5 separate regions of the Homo sapiens genome follow, and all the other regions are linked to region 1. The links are contacts of gene promoters, found by promoter capture Hi-C in blood cells and fetal thymus (Javierre and others, 2016). All regions are on one chromosome and are shown on one strand. The core of a region is centred on a gene start or on the middle of the fragment in contact, and the rest is flanking DNA. Distances in the headings are between cores, read along the strand shown. Region 1 holds the start of TMED9 (transmembrane p24 trafficking protein 9). Region 2 has its middle 23 kb from the start of FGFR4. Region 3 has its middle 58 kb from the start of N4BP3. Region 4 has its middle 8.9 kb from the start of MXD3. Region 5 has its middle 18 kb from the start of N4BP3.

Region 1 (2,700 bases), core at 201-2,700:
TTCCATTCTGTGGGTTGCCTCTTTACTCTGCTACAGAGTCTTTTGATGCACAAAATGTTTTAATTTTCATAAAGTCCAATTTGTCTATTTTTTCTTTTGTTGCCTGTGCCTTTAGTGTCATATCCAGGAAGTCTGTTGCCAAATCCGATGTGGTAAACCCTTTGCCATATGTTTTCTATGAGTTTTATGCTTTGGGATTTTAAAAGTTGTGGGTCTTTTTGGGTGAATTTTTATCTATGGTGTTAGAGAAGGAACCACCTTCACTTTTTTGCATGTGGATATCCAGTTTTCCCAGCACCATTTGTTAGAAAGACTGTCCCTCCTCCCCGCATTGAATGGGCTTGGTCTCCTTGTTAAAAATTATTTGACCATATATGGGAGGGCATATCTTGGGGCTCTCTATTGTATTCCATTGGTCTATATGTCTGTCTATATGCCAGTACCACACTGTCTTGATGACTGAAGCTTGGAAGTAAGTTTTGAAATCAGGAAGTGTGAGTTCTTCAGCTTTATTCTTATTTTTCAGGATTGTTTTGGCTAATCGAAATCCCTTGAGAGTATATGAATTGTAGAATGAGTTTCTCTGTTTCTACAAAAAATGTCATTGGGATTTTGACAGGAATTGCATTAAATCTGTAGATTGCTTTGGATAGTATTGACATCTTAACTATATTAAGTAAGGATGATTTTTTTTAAATTACTGATTCAATCTCCTCACTAGTTATAGGTTTATTCAGATTATATTATCTATTCTGAGTCAGTTTTGCATTTCTATGAATTTGTCCATTTCATCTACGTTATCCAATTTGTTGGCTTATATTTGCTCATAGTACTCTCTTATGATCCTTTCTATTTCTGTAGAATTGCTAGTAACGAGCCATTGCAGTTGGGATCTGGCAGCAGAGGCTGTGTGTGTGTTTGTGTGTGTGTGTGATCGGAGAAATGCTTGAGAGGGTAACACCCGATTTAGGAGTGGACAGGGTATGAGGACAAAGAAGTGGTAATGGGAGACCTTGCCTTTTATTTCTTTTAATCTTTTTTGATAATACATTTGTGCATTATTTGGTCGTTCTCTTTAAATTCATTTTTAAAGGTAGAAGCAAATCAAGACTGGTAGATGCTGTGCCAAGGAAAGTCAGGGATCCTAGGTTCGAATCCTGTCTCTGTTCGCAATTCGCTCCGCAACCTCAAACAAACGACCTCAGTTTCATCTATGAAAAGCTGGTAACCATCGTCAGTTGCCAGGCCATGAAGAGAGTCAACGGAAATAAGTTTTTATTCTAGGGCACCCGCTCTCTCTCAGGTAAAAGCCGCGCCCCAATCAGGTACTGCCGCGCCAGGGCCGCGGGACATCTCGGGATTTGTGGTCCACCCGGCGGAACTCGCGGTCCCGGCAGGCACCGCGGCGGCGGCAGGGCGACGTGGCGCGGCCGGCTGCGGCTGCGCAGGCAGGTGGAGCAAGATGGCTGTGGAGCTGGGCGTGCTGCTCGTCCGGCCCCGGCCCGGAACCGGGCTGGGTAGAGTGATGCGGACCCTCCTGCTGGTGCTGTGGCTGGCGACGCGCGGAAGCGCGCTCTACTTTCACATCGGAGAGACGGAGAAGAAGTGCTTTATTGAGGAGATCCCGGACGAGACCATGGTCATAGGTGCGGGGGCGGGGAGGAAGGGGCGAGTTTGGAACGTGACCGTGGTCTTGGGGCGGGGGATGCGAGACAGTCAGCTCTCTAGAGCCGGGAGGAGACGGCCTCGCCGTGCCCAGGCGGTCGCGGAACCCATGCCACCTCGCGCTCCTCTGACCTGGGCTCGCCCTGCTTCCCTCAAGGAAACTACCGGACGCAGCTGTATGACAAGCAGCGGGAGGAGTACCAGCCGGCCACCCCGGGGCTTGGCATGTTTGTGGAGGTGAAGGACCCAGAGGACAAGGTGAGCCAACCGCCCCCCTCCTCTCCGCCAGCCTCTCAGCTAGGCGGGCTCCGGTACTTCCTCTTCTAGTTCCTGCATCTGCTAAAGTGGGAGAGACAGTTGATGTTGTGGGAATATCCTGCTGACTTGCAGACCCCGCCCGGTCTGTGAAATGGGCGGATTAATTGTGGTGATAAAAATCAAAGAGTTTTGTCAACTCTTAAAGTCATCTAGACTTTAAGATTTCACAGAACATGATACTTTCCCCACAAAATGAGCAGCTTTTAATCTTCCCAAGTAAGGATATTAAAACGAACGGCAAAACCCTTCAGCTCTCACCTTCTGTCACTTTTCGTTAAAAAACTCATGGCGGGGTGTGGTGGCTCTTGCCTGTAATCCCAGCACTTTGGGATGCCGAGGCGGGTGGATCACTTGAGGCCGGGAGTTCAGGACCGGCCTGGGCAACCTCCGTCTGGCAAACCCCGTCTCTAGTAAAAATACAAAAAAAAAAAAAAAAAAAAATGAGCCGGGTGTGGTGGCGCACACCTCTAATACCAGATACTTGGGAGGCTAAGGCACGATAATTGCTTGAACCTGGGAAGCTGAGGCTGCAGTGAGCTGAGATAGCATCACTGCACTCCAGCCAGGACGACAGAGTGAGACTCTGTCTCAAAAACAAAAACAAAAAAGAACCCCCCAAAAAACAACTCACACCAAAAAAGTTGAAAGGGCATAAGCTATAAAGGAAAGCCCTTCCCAAGAGCAGTCAGTCACTTGCCACCCTAATGTCAGACTCTC
Region 2 (2,813 bases), core at 182-2,681, 480 kb before region 1:
GACCAGCCTGACCAGTAGGGTGAAACCCCGTCTCTACTAAAAATACAAAAATTAACCAGGCATGGTGGTGCACACCTGTAATCTCAGCTACTCAGGAGGCTGAGGCAGGAGAATGGCGTGAACCCAGGAGGCGGAGCTTGCAGTGAGCTGAGATCGTCCCACTGCACTCCAGCCTGGGTGACAGAGAGAGACTCCGTCTCAAAAAAAAAAAAAAAAAAAAGCTGGAGAACTCCAGGTGCTGGCAAGGAGACGAGAGGCTCTCCTGGACTGGGGGCTGAAGCTGTCCCAGCGAAGTCTAGGAGCATTCAGCTAAGTATATACACACATGCCCTATGACCTGGAAATGTTGCCCTGAACATATAACTGCCCCCAAACACACACACACACACACACACACACACACACACACACACACAACACACAGAGATCCTCCCATGTGACCGTGTGGGGAAGGCAGGAGGAGGGGTTGGATCCAGCCTGGGGTTCCTCACTGGAAGGCGGATCAGCAGAATGTGTGGAGGACCCGGTGGACACAGAGCCACATGGGGGACTTAGAAATCTCGTGCTGAGAGGCAAGAGGAAGAAATGGAATGAGATCTAAAGCACAAAGCCACTTGCACGAAATGATGACACGGAAAACACACATTTTCCAAGAACGCACACACAAAACTATTAGCACGACTGTCTGGGGGGCAGGGTGATAAGAATGGAGAATGAGGCCTGGCGTAGTGTCTCACGCCTGTAATCCCAGCACTTTGGGAGGCCGAGGCGGATGGATCTCGAGATCAGGAGATCAAAACCATTTTGGCCAACATGGTGAAACCCTGTCTCTACTAAAAATACAAAAATTAGCCGGGCGTGGTGGCACGCGCCTGTAATCCCAGCTACTCCGGAGGCTGAGGCAGGAGAATTGCTGGAACCCGGGAGGCAGAGGTTGCAGTGAGCTGAGATTGTGCCATTGCACTCCAGCCTGGGCAACAAGAGCAAAACTCTGTATTAGAAGAAAAAAAAAAAAGAACGAAGCACTGAGCACTGACCAGATAGAGGAAGGCGTGCAGGGGTGTGGAGTTGTGGAGTGTTGGGAATTGAAAGGCTCAGTAAATCAAGAAATGTTTACTGGGCACCTACCATAGGCCAGGTACTCTTCTAGTCACTGGGTATACCCAGTGAAGACAGACCTGGCCCCTGCCCTGAGGAGTTTCGTATCTACAAATGGAGACAGATATTCAACAAACACCCAGGAAAATGCTGACTGTAATGAAACGCAGAGCTCTGAAGGTCAACAGCCTGCAGCTGTGAGTGCTGACGGTGGGGACTGATCCTGGCCGGCTCCGGCTCCGGCTCCGGCTCCGGGAAGGGTTCCCTGAGGGAATGATGTTTGAGTTGAAGGAGGAGAGCCTTGGCCTTGTGAAGAGTGGGAGGAAATGCATTCCAGGCAGACAGAATGGTCTCTGCAAAGGTCTGGAGGCAGGCAGGTGCAGGGCGAAGGTGAGGGCATCCGATCCAGCTCCGTGGACAGAGCACAAGAGTGAGGGGGAACACGGTGCCAGATGAGGCCAAACCCAGGGGGCCTCGTAGGCTGTGGGTTTATCCTAAGGCAAGTGACAAGACAGGAAAGCAAGGGGCTGGTGCAGATGGGCAGGCAGTGGAGGGGATTGTTGCAGCGCCTGGCTAGACTCAGAGCCGGGAACCGGAACAGCCCCCCAAAGTACATGTGTGGCCTCCCAAGAAGACAGAAGTAAGAGCCCCAGAGCATCCACAGAGTGACCATCCACGCTGTCTCCCACTCTCTGGTCTGGGGCCAGCAGCGCCTCTGCACAGCTACATTCTGAGGCTCCCAGCTTGGCCAAGGGGATAGAGAAAAGTGGAAGGCCAGATGCAGAATAAGAGGATTTGCTAGGCCAGGCATGGCATTTCACGCCTGAAATCCCAGCATTTTGGGAGGCTGAGGCGGGAGAATGACTTGAGGCCAGGAGTTCAGGACCAGTCTGGGCAACACAGTGAGACCCTGTCTCTACAAAAAAAATAAAACAATTAGCCGAGTGCGAGAACACGTGCCTGTAGTCCCAGCTACTTGGGAGGCTGAGGTGGTAGGATCACTCTTACAGAGAGAACAGTCTCTGCTTGGAATAGTCCAAGCTCCTTAACACGCAGAGGAGGCCTTCAGGATCTGGCCCAGTAGGTTGCAGTGAGCTACGATATTGAGTCTCTGCACTCCAGCCTGGAACACAGAGCAAGCTCCTGTCTGAAATAAATAAATAAATAAATAAATAAATAAATAAATAAATAAAAGGGAGGCCGGGCACAGTGGTTCATGCCTGTAATCCCAGCACTTTGGGAGGCTGAGGCGGGCAGATCACCTGAGGTCAGGAGTTTGAGATGAGCCTGGCCAACACAGTGAAACCCTGTCTCTACTAAAAATACAAAAATTAGCTGGGTGTGGGTGGGCTACTAGGTAGCCCAGCTACTCGGGAGGCTGAGGCAGGAGAATCGCTTGAGCCCAGGAGGTGGAGGTTGCAGTGAGCCGAGATCATGCCACTGCACTCCAGCCTGGATGACAGAGCAAGACTCCCTCTCAAAAACAAAATAAAAATAAAAATAAAAGGGGGCTGGGCGCAGTGGCTCACACCTGTAATCCCAGCACTTTGGGAGACTGAGGCGGGGGATCACAAGGTCAGGAGCTCAAGACCAGCCTGGCCAAGATGGTGAAACCCCGTCTCTACTAAAAATACAAAAAATTAGCTGGGCGTGGTGGCGGGCGCCTGTAGTCCCAGCTACTTGGGAGACTGAGGCAGAGAATTGCTTGAACCTGG
Region 3 (2,700 bases), core at 109-2,608, 460 kb after region 1:
AATCATTTTACTAAATAGTGACTATTTGTCATGAAAAACAGTATATTTAGTTTTAATACAGTTGAGTACTCACAAATTTCTGGGGGAACTTCGTCAGGACATTTCAACTGAGAATTGTCAGGCACCTTCTCACTGATAGGCATGCTGCTCGGTGGTGCAGCTCATAAGCAGACAACCCCCTTCATGTAATTTAGTAGGAAAATGACAGAAATACTTGTGTAACTATAAAGTAAAGCAGAATTCTGGTTATTGAATCACAGCACCTACTGAAAGAAGTTCTCAAGTTCTGACTGAGTTCTAAAATTTTTTGAAGATTAGAATTCTTCATATGTAAGTAAAAACAATTTCTGATGACCCATTTCTAGTCCATCTTCTAAAGAAGTATTTAATCTGGGCCACGCATGGCGGCTCACGCCTGTCATCCCAGCACTTTGGGAGGCCGAGGCAGGTGGATCACGAGGTCAGGAGATCAAGACCATCCTGGCTAACACGGTGAAACCCTGTTTCTATTAAAAATACAAAAAAGGCCGAGCGTGGTGGCTCACACCTGTAATCCCAGCACTTTGGGAGGCTGAGGTGGGCAGATCACGAGGTCAGGAGATCGAGACCACGGTGAAACCCCGTCTCTACTAAAAATACAAAAAATTAGCCAGGCATGGTTGTGGGCTCCTGTAGTCCCAGGTACTCGGGAGGCTGAGGCAGGAGAATGGCGTGAACCCGGGAGGTGGAGCTTGCAGTGAGCTGAGATCGCACCACTGCACTCCAGCCTGGGTGACAGAGTGAGACTCTGTCTCAAAAAAAAAAAAAAAAAAAATAGGTCTCACTGCACCTTTGCAGTAATTATATGAAGGGGTAGCCTGCCCATCCATACCTGTGGGTATATCTTGTCAGGTGGGATGAGAGACTGAGAAAAGAAATAAGACACGGAGACAAAGTACAGAGAAAGAACAGCGGGCCCAGGAGACCGGCACTCAGCATACGGAGGACCAGCACTGGCACCGGCCTCTGAGTTCCCTCAGTTTATTGATTACCATTTTCAGTGTCTCAGCAAGAGGAATGCGGTAGGAGAGCAGGGTGTCAGCAAGAAAACCTGTGAGCCTTTCCTTTCGCTGCTGCGGCCGCAGCCATGAGCATGCTCGGGCCTCAGAAGAGGCTCGCCTCTAGTGTCCTCCGCTGTGGCAAGAAGAAGGTCTGGTTAGACCCCAGTGAGACCAATGAAATCGCCAATGCCAACTCCCGTCAGCAGATCCGGAAGCTCATCAAAGACGGGCTGATCATCCGCAAGCCTGTGACGGTCCATTCCCGGGCTCGATGCCGGAAAAACACCTTGGCCCGCCGGAAGGGCAGGCACGTGGCCATAGGTGAGCAGAAGGGTACAGCCAATGCCCGAATGCCAGAGAAGGTCACATGGATGAGGAGAATGACGATTTTGCGCCGGCTGCTCAGAAGATACCGTGAATCTAAGAAGATCGATCGCCACACGTATCACAGCCTGTACCTGAAGGTGAAGGGGAATGTGTTCAAAGACAAGCGGATTCTCATGGAACACATCCACAAGCTGAAGGCAGACAAGGCCCGCAAGAAGCTCCTGGCTGACCAGGCTGAGGCCCGCAGGTCTAAGACCAAGGAAGCAGGCAAGTGCCCTGAAGAGCGCCTCCAGGCCAAGAAGGAGGAGTTCATCAAGACTTTATCCAAGGAGGAAGAGACCAAGAAATAAAAGCTCCCCCTTTGTCTGTACATACTGGCCTCTGTGATTACATAGATCAGCCATGAAAATAAAACAAGCCTTAAAAAAAAAAAACATGTGAGCAAAGGAATCTGTGTCACAAATAAGTTCAAGGGACGGTACTATGCCTGGATGTGCACGTAGGCCAGATTTATGTTCCTCTCCACCCAAACATCTCAGTGGAGTAAAGAATAATAAAGCAGCATTGCTGCCAACATGTCTCACCTCCCGCCACAGGGCGGTTTTTCTCCTATCTCAAAACTGAACAAATGTACAATCAGGTTTTATACCGAGACATTCAGTTCCCAGGGGCAGGCAGGAGACAGTGGCCTTCCTCTATCTCAACTGCAAGAGGCTTTCCTCTTTTACTAATCCTCCTCAGCACAGACCCTCCACAGATGTCGGGCTGGGGGACGGTCAGGTCTTTCCCATCCCATGAGGCCATATTTCAGATTTTCACATAGGGAGAAACCTTGGACAATACCCGGCTTCCCAGGGCAGAGTTCCCTGTGGCTTTCCGCAGTGCATTGTGCCCCTGGTTTATTGAGACTGGAGAATGGCGATAACTCTTACCAAGCATACTGCTTGGAAACATGTTGTTAACAAGGCACATCCTGCATAGCCCTAGATCCCTTTAACCTTGATTCCATACAACACATGTTTCTGTGAGCTCAAGGTTGAGGCAAAGTTACAGATTAGCAGCATCACAGGGCAAAGCAATTGTTCAGGGTACGGGTTAACATGGAGTTTCTTATGTCTTCCCTTTCTACATAGACACAGTAACAGTCTGATCTCTCTTTCTTTTCCCTACAATTATAGTCCATTGTGTACATGAAAACAAGGCCTTCTGAAAACATGTATTATTGGTCAGAGGCAGCAGCAGTGAGAAGCCAGTGTGTCGTATTGTCCAACACACACTTCCCACACAGCCCTGCCATGCTCACTCATGACTTTCTGACAAACTGCTTTGTTGC
Region 4 (2,700 bases), core at 36-2,535, 270 kb before region 1:
CACTGTTGTTTCAGCATAATTTTCCCCCTCAAAAGTGGCCCTGGGAATAGCTGTAGCTCAGACCAGCCACAATCCAAGCTTGGCCCAATCTCAGGATCTGCCCTATCACCATCTTTTGCCTTCATTGTTGCTACAGAGAACAATAGGATGGTATATTTAGCTTGTTTCTAGTTACTTTGCATTTCCTTATACGTCCAGTGAACTAACTCCTTGGGAGTTGCATCCATCATTTCTAAAATTCATTATTAATTTTTGCCTCCACTAACTGATCACAGCACAGCTGCATTTCCATACCACAGTGAACTCATGGCCCTCCAGGAATCAAAGGTTCATCATACTCCATCCTCTCATCCAATTCCTAGAGATAGTAACTCACTCACTCACCTGCAAGCGTGCCGTGCCTTTCATATTCATACTAACCAATCCAGAGCCCATACCTTCCAACCACCTCCTTTACTGGGCTCTTACACGCTGCACCACTATCCCCCAGAGACTGGACAACTAGGGACATCCTACCCCAAACCCATTGAAATTATTCAAGCTAGGCAATCCTAGACCTGCTCACTCTGCCTCTCAGGTTCCTTCCTAAGCAAACCACAATAAAGGCTCTTGCCCCACAGTTCCCCTCCCTCCCTCTGCCCCCGACCAACACTGGTGCTTCCCCGTGTGGCCCGTGTTAGTGTGCGGTGCCGCCTGTTTCTAGGGAACTGTGAGTATAAGCTTCTTCCCACCATGGCAGTCATTTCTGTGTCTGTTACATCATATCTAAGGACAACAAATCCAAGGTGTCCTTACAACAACTGGCGCAGTGAGCAGGGTGGTTTGATGCCAGATGGAGATGGTATGTCCTCAAACTGCTCTTGGCTTACTAACTGGATCCACCAGGCAGTGGCCATTGCCTGGAAGGCAGCCCTGGTCATTTGTGCGCCCCCTTGATGGCTGGTGCACTGTGTGGTGTGTTGTGGGTGCTGCTGTGGATTCCCAACCTGAGGGCGGTGCTCGGGAAGCTGAGTCCTCCCGGAGCTGCTGCCCAGGCTAGAGTGTTCAGTGCCTGGGACTCAGGCCACAGGGCACTCGTCTTTCTCCGTGCTGGTGGAGCACCCAGACGCCAGAACAGAACACCTGGAGGTATACGGAAAACTGACCACATCGGTTTCTTGAAAAAGTCCTTCCATGGCCGGGCATGGTGGCTCACGCCTGTAATCCCAGCACTCTGGGAGGCCAAAGCAGGTGGATCACCTAAGGTCGGGAGTTTGATACCAGCCTGAGTAACATGGAGAAACCTCGTCTCTACTAAAAATACAAAATTAGCCGGGTGTGGTGGCACATGCCTGTAATCCCAGCTACTCGGGAGGCTGAGGCAGGAGAATCGCTTGAACCCAGGAGGCGGAGGTTGCAATGAGCCAAGACTGTGCCATTGCACTAAAGCCTAGGCAACAAGAGCAAGACTCCATCTCAAAAAAGAAAAGGAGAGAAAAGGTCCTTCCAAAGACAACAAGAGCAACTACCCTGCTAGCGTCATGGGATGAGTCTAACCCACTGACCAGGCAGCACTGGCAAGCGGTGGGGCCAGCCATGTCGGTCACTTGTATGCAAGTGCTCAGTGTCTGGGATGTTATATGCTCCAGCAGGCACTTGATAAACCACTTCCCCTTTTCCTTCTGGCCTTTGCTGAGTCAAAAGTTTCAGCCTGTTCTCTGGAGTATGGGAAGAGTACTCCACCTGAACGCCTGCATGTGTAGCGTAGGCTGTTCCCACGGTCAGTGTCAGGGTGTCCTCTTCAAGGGATCCGGGCACCCTGCAAATGTTCTTGTTCCAGCCACAAACCTCTCTTCCTTTAGCCAGGTCCTGAAGCTTTCCTCTTTTAGTGTGGGGCTTTCATTATGATTTATTCTTAAGTCCGAATGTTATTTGGTAGTATGTTTTTAGTTTCCAGATACAAAGGATTTTTTCAGTTATCTTTTGGTTGCTGATTTCCATTTATATTCTCCATATTCCTTTTTTTCTTTTCTTTTTTTTTTTTTTTTTTTTTTTTTTTGAGACAGAGCCTTACTCTGTTGCCCAGGCTGGAGTGCAGTGGCACGATCTCAGCTCACTGCAACCTCCGCCTCCCAGGTTCAAGTGATTCTCCTGCCTCAGCCTCCCGAGTAGCTGGGACTACAGGCACGCACCACCATGCCCGTCTAATTTTGTATTTTTTTAATTTTTTTTTTTTTTTCAGACAGAGTCTCGCTCTGTCACCAGGCTAGAGTGCAGTGGCACGATCTCGGCTCACTGCAACCTCTGCCTCCCAGGTTCAAGCCATTCTCCGGCTTCAGCCTCCCAAGTAGCTGGGACTACAGGCACACGCCACCACACCCAGCTAATTTTTTTGTATTTTTAGTAGAGACGGGGTTTCAACATGTTGGCCAAGATGGTCTCGATCTCAACTTCGTGATCCGCCTGCCTCGGCCTCCCAAAGTACTGGGATTACAGGCATGAGCCATCATGCCGGGCCCATTCTCTTTAAAAATCTCCTCTTTATAAATCTCTTTATAAATCTCCATCTCTGTGTTTCCTCCCAAGGTCCTCTGATCTTTGATCTGATCTTCAAATTAGTTGATCTTCAACTAATTTGGTGAATCCATTTTGTTATCAACCCCTATATTGAGTCCTTTATGTCAACTAAAAAGTTGCATATCCGTGTCTCCAGGTGGTTCT
Region 5 (2,700 bases), core at 97-2,596, 500 kb after region 1:
CGCCTGTAATCCCAGCACTTTGGGAGGCCGAGGCGGGCGGATCACCTGAGGTCAGGAGTTCGAGACCAGCCTCAACATGGAGAAACCCCGTCTCTACTAAAAATACAAAATTAGCCGGGCGTGGTGGTGCATGCCTGTAATCCCAGCTACTCGGGAGGCTGAGGCAAGAGAATTGCTTGAACCTGGGAGGCGGAGGTTGTGGTGAGCCGAGATTGCTCCATTGCACTCCAACCTGGGCAACAAGAGCGAAACTCCATCTCAAAAAAAAGGTTGGGAAGCGCTGACTCACAGTATGTTCCATGAGGCCTGTGCTCTAGAGAAAAATTACCCTAGGTAAGGACAATAGAGATGCAGCAAGTGTAAAGGCCCTGCGGTGGGCCAGTGTGACTGGAGCTTGAATAACGGGACAGTGGGAGAAGATGAGGTCAGAGTCAGGATGGAGCCACGGCAGCTATGACCTGATAGGACATGGTAAAGAGGGGGCTGCGGGAAGCCACTGGAAACAATGAAGCAGAGAAGGAACATGACCAGATTCAAGGCTTAGAAAGCCACTTCGGCTGCTGTGTAGAGAATGGACTAGGTGGAGTGAGACAGGAAGCAAGGAGGCAAGCTGGGTGGTTCCTGCAGGAAGCCAGGTGGGAGGGGGCAGGCGCTTGCACTGAGGGCTGCAGAGACAAAAGAAGTGGAGGGATGTGAGACATATCTGGAGAGAGAATCTATAGAGTTTGTTCATGAATGGGATGGGAGGGGTGTGATACGAGGCGAGGGAAGAAATTGAGGCTACTAGCGGGTTTGGGCTTCCGCTATGGAGTGGATGGTCGTAGCACAGACTGCAGTGAGGAAGACAGGTTCGAAGAGGGAAATCAAGCATCTTGTTCAGGACCTATGAAGTTGTGGAGCCCAGCCAACATCCAAGTGGGGACAGCCCATAGGTGGTATTTGTTGACTGCGTAAGTGAGCTCAGTTCTTCTGGTGGGGAACACGGTCTGTAGTAAGGCGGAGTATTGAGTTTTAGACAACTCTGCCGAAACCCCTTAGGTGGAGAAGACTTCGGCTGCCCTGGGCCTTGCACCCACTGGTTCTGGATGTGCCATCTCCCGGGCTCACATGCTGGATTCACGTCAGTCCTCCCTCCTCCATGGTCACTCTTCAGATGGCTTCACATCGGTCCTCCCTGCTCCATGGTCACTCTTCAGATGGATTCACGTCAGTCCTCCCTCCTCCGTGGCCACTCTTCAGATGGCTTCATGTCGGTCCTCCCTCCTCCGTGGCCACTCTTCAGATGGCTTCATGTCGGTCCTCCCTCCTCCGTGGCCACTCTTCAGATGGCTTCATGTCGGTTCTCCCTCCTCCGTGGCCACTCTTCAGATGGATTCACGTCAGTCCTCCCTCCTCCGTGGCCACTCTTCAGATGGATTCACGTCAGTCCTCCCTCCTCCGTGGCCACTCTTCAGATGGATTCACGTCAGTCCTCCCTCCTCCGTGGCCACTCTTCAGATGGCTTCACGTCGGTCCTCCCTCCTCAGTGGCCACTCTTCACATGGATTCATGTCGGTCCTCCCTCCTCAGTGGCCACTCTTCACATGGATTCATGTCGGTCCTCCCTCCTCCGTGGCCACTCTTCAGATGGCTTCACGTCGGTCCTCCCTCCTCGGTGGCCTCTCTTCAGATGGATTCACGTCGGTCCTCCCTCCTCCGTGGCCACTCTTCAGATAGCTTCACGTCGGTCCTCCCTCCTCCGTGGCCACTCTTCAGATGGCTTCATGTCGGTCCTCCCTCCTCCGTGGCCACTCTTCAGATGGCTTCATGTCGGTCCTCCCTCCTCCGTGGCCACTCTTCAGATGGCTTCATGTCGGTCCTCCCTCCTCCGTGGCCACTCTTCAGATGGCTTCATGTCGGTTCTCCCTCCTCCGTGGCCACTCTTCACATGGATTCATGTCGGTCCTCCCTCCTCCGTGGCCACTCTTCAGATGGCTTCATGTCGGTCCTCCCTCCTCCGTGGCCACTCTTCAGATGGCTTCATGTCGGTCCTCCCTCCTCAGTGGCCACTCTTCAGATGGATTCATGTCGGTCCTCCCTCCTCCGTGGCCACTCTTCAGATGGCTTCACGTCGGTCCTCCCTCCTCCGTGGCCACTCTTCAGATAGCTTCACGTCGGTCCTCCCTCCTCCGTGGCCACTCTTCACATGGATTCACGTCGGTCCTCCCTCCTCCGTGGCCACTCTTCAGATGGCTTCATGTCGGTCCTCCCTCCTCCGTGGCCACTCTTCAGATGGCTTCATGTCGGTCCTCCCTCCTCCGTGGCCACTCTTCACATGGATTCATGTCGGTCCTCCCTCCTCCGTGGCCACTCTTCAGATGGCTTCATGTCGGTCCTCCCTCCTCCGTGGCCACTCTTCAGATGGCTTCATGTCGGTCCTCCCTCCTCGGTGGCCTCTCTTCAGATGGATTCACGTCGGTCCTCCCTCCTCCGTGGCCACTCTTCAGATGGCTTCATGTCGGTCCTCCCTCCTCGGTGGCCTCTCTTCAGATGGATTCACGTCGGTCCTCCCTCCTCCGTGGCCACTCTTCAGATGGCTTCATGTCGGTCCTCCCTCCTCCGTGGCCACTCTTCACATGGATTCATGTCGGTCCTCCCTCCTCCGTGGCCACTCTTCAGATGGCTTCATGTCGGTCCTCCCTCCTCCGTGGCCACTCTTCA

Evidence for each region. Contacts are between HindIII fragments. The CHiCAGO score rates a contact against its expected background, and 5 or more counts as called.
Region 2: a contact is called between a fragment that was not itself captured here and the fragment with the promoter of TMED9 in region 1, in 1 of 17 cell types (neutrophils). The highest score is 5.1, in neutrophils.
Region 3: a fragment that was not itself captured here is called in contact with the fragment with the promoter of TMED9 in region 1 in 5 of 17 cell types (naive B cells, total B cells, total CD4 T cells and 2 more); the score reaches 9.1 in naive B cells.
Region 4: a contact is called between a fragment that was not itself captured here and the fragment with the promoter of TMED9 in region 1, in 2 of 17 cell types (naive B cells and total CD8 T cells). The highest score is 5.9, in naive B cells.
Region 5: a contact is called between a fragment that was not itself captured here and the fragment with the promoter of TMED9 in region 1, in 1 of 17 cell types (total B cells). The highest score is 5.6, in total B cells.

The regions. Positions count from the first base shown.
Region 1 is chr5:177,590,753-177,593,452 of GRCh38, forward strand. It overlaps TMED9 (transmembrane p24 trafficking protein 9), which reads left to right and starts at 1,451. Exons shown (of 5, transcript NM_017510.6): 1 at 1,451-1,646; 2 at 1,823-1,923. The coding sequence starts at 1,463. RefSeq lists an enhancer at 2,656-2,700. The HindIII fragment of the contact is 2,414 bases long and covers 464-2,700 here.
Region 2 is chr5:177,108,715-177,111,527 of GRCh38, forward strand. No RefSeq gene overlaps it. Among named protein-coding and RNA genes, the nearest start is that of FGFR4, 23 kb to the left of the region's middle. RefSeq lists an enhancer at 1,520-2,019. The HindIII fragment of the contact is 6,039 bases long and covers 1-2,813 here.
Region 3 is chr5:178,054,478-178,057,177 of GRCh38, forward strand. It overlaps the pseudogene FAM153CP and the pseudogene RPL19P9. Among named protein-coding and RNA genes, the nearest start is that of N4BP3, 58 kb to the right of the region's middle. The HindIII fragment of the contact is 2,854 bases long and covers 1-2,700 here.
Region 4 is chr5:177,319,463-177,322,162 of GRCh38, forward strand. No RefSeq gene overlaps it. Among named protein-coding and RNA genes, the nearest start is that of MXD3, 8.9 kb to the left of the region's middle. RefSeq lists enhancers at 476-977, 978-1,477. The HindIII fragment of the contact is 1,134 bases long and covers 719-1,852 here.
Region 5 is chr5:178,093,923-178,096,622 of GRCh38, forward strand. No RefSeq gene overlaps it. Among named protein-coding and RNA genes, the nearest start is that of N4BP3, 18 kb to the right of the region's middle. The HindIII fragment of the contact is 8,743 bases long and covers 1-2,700 here.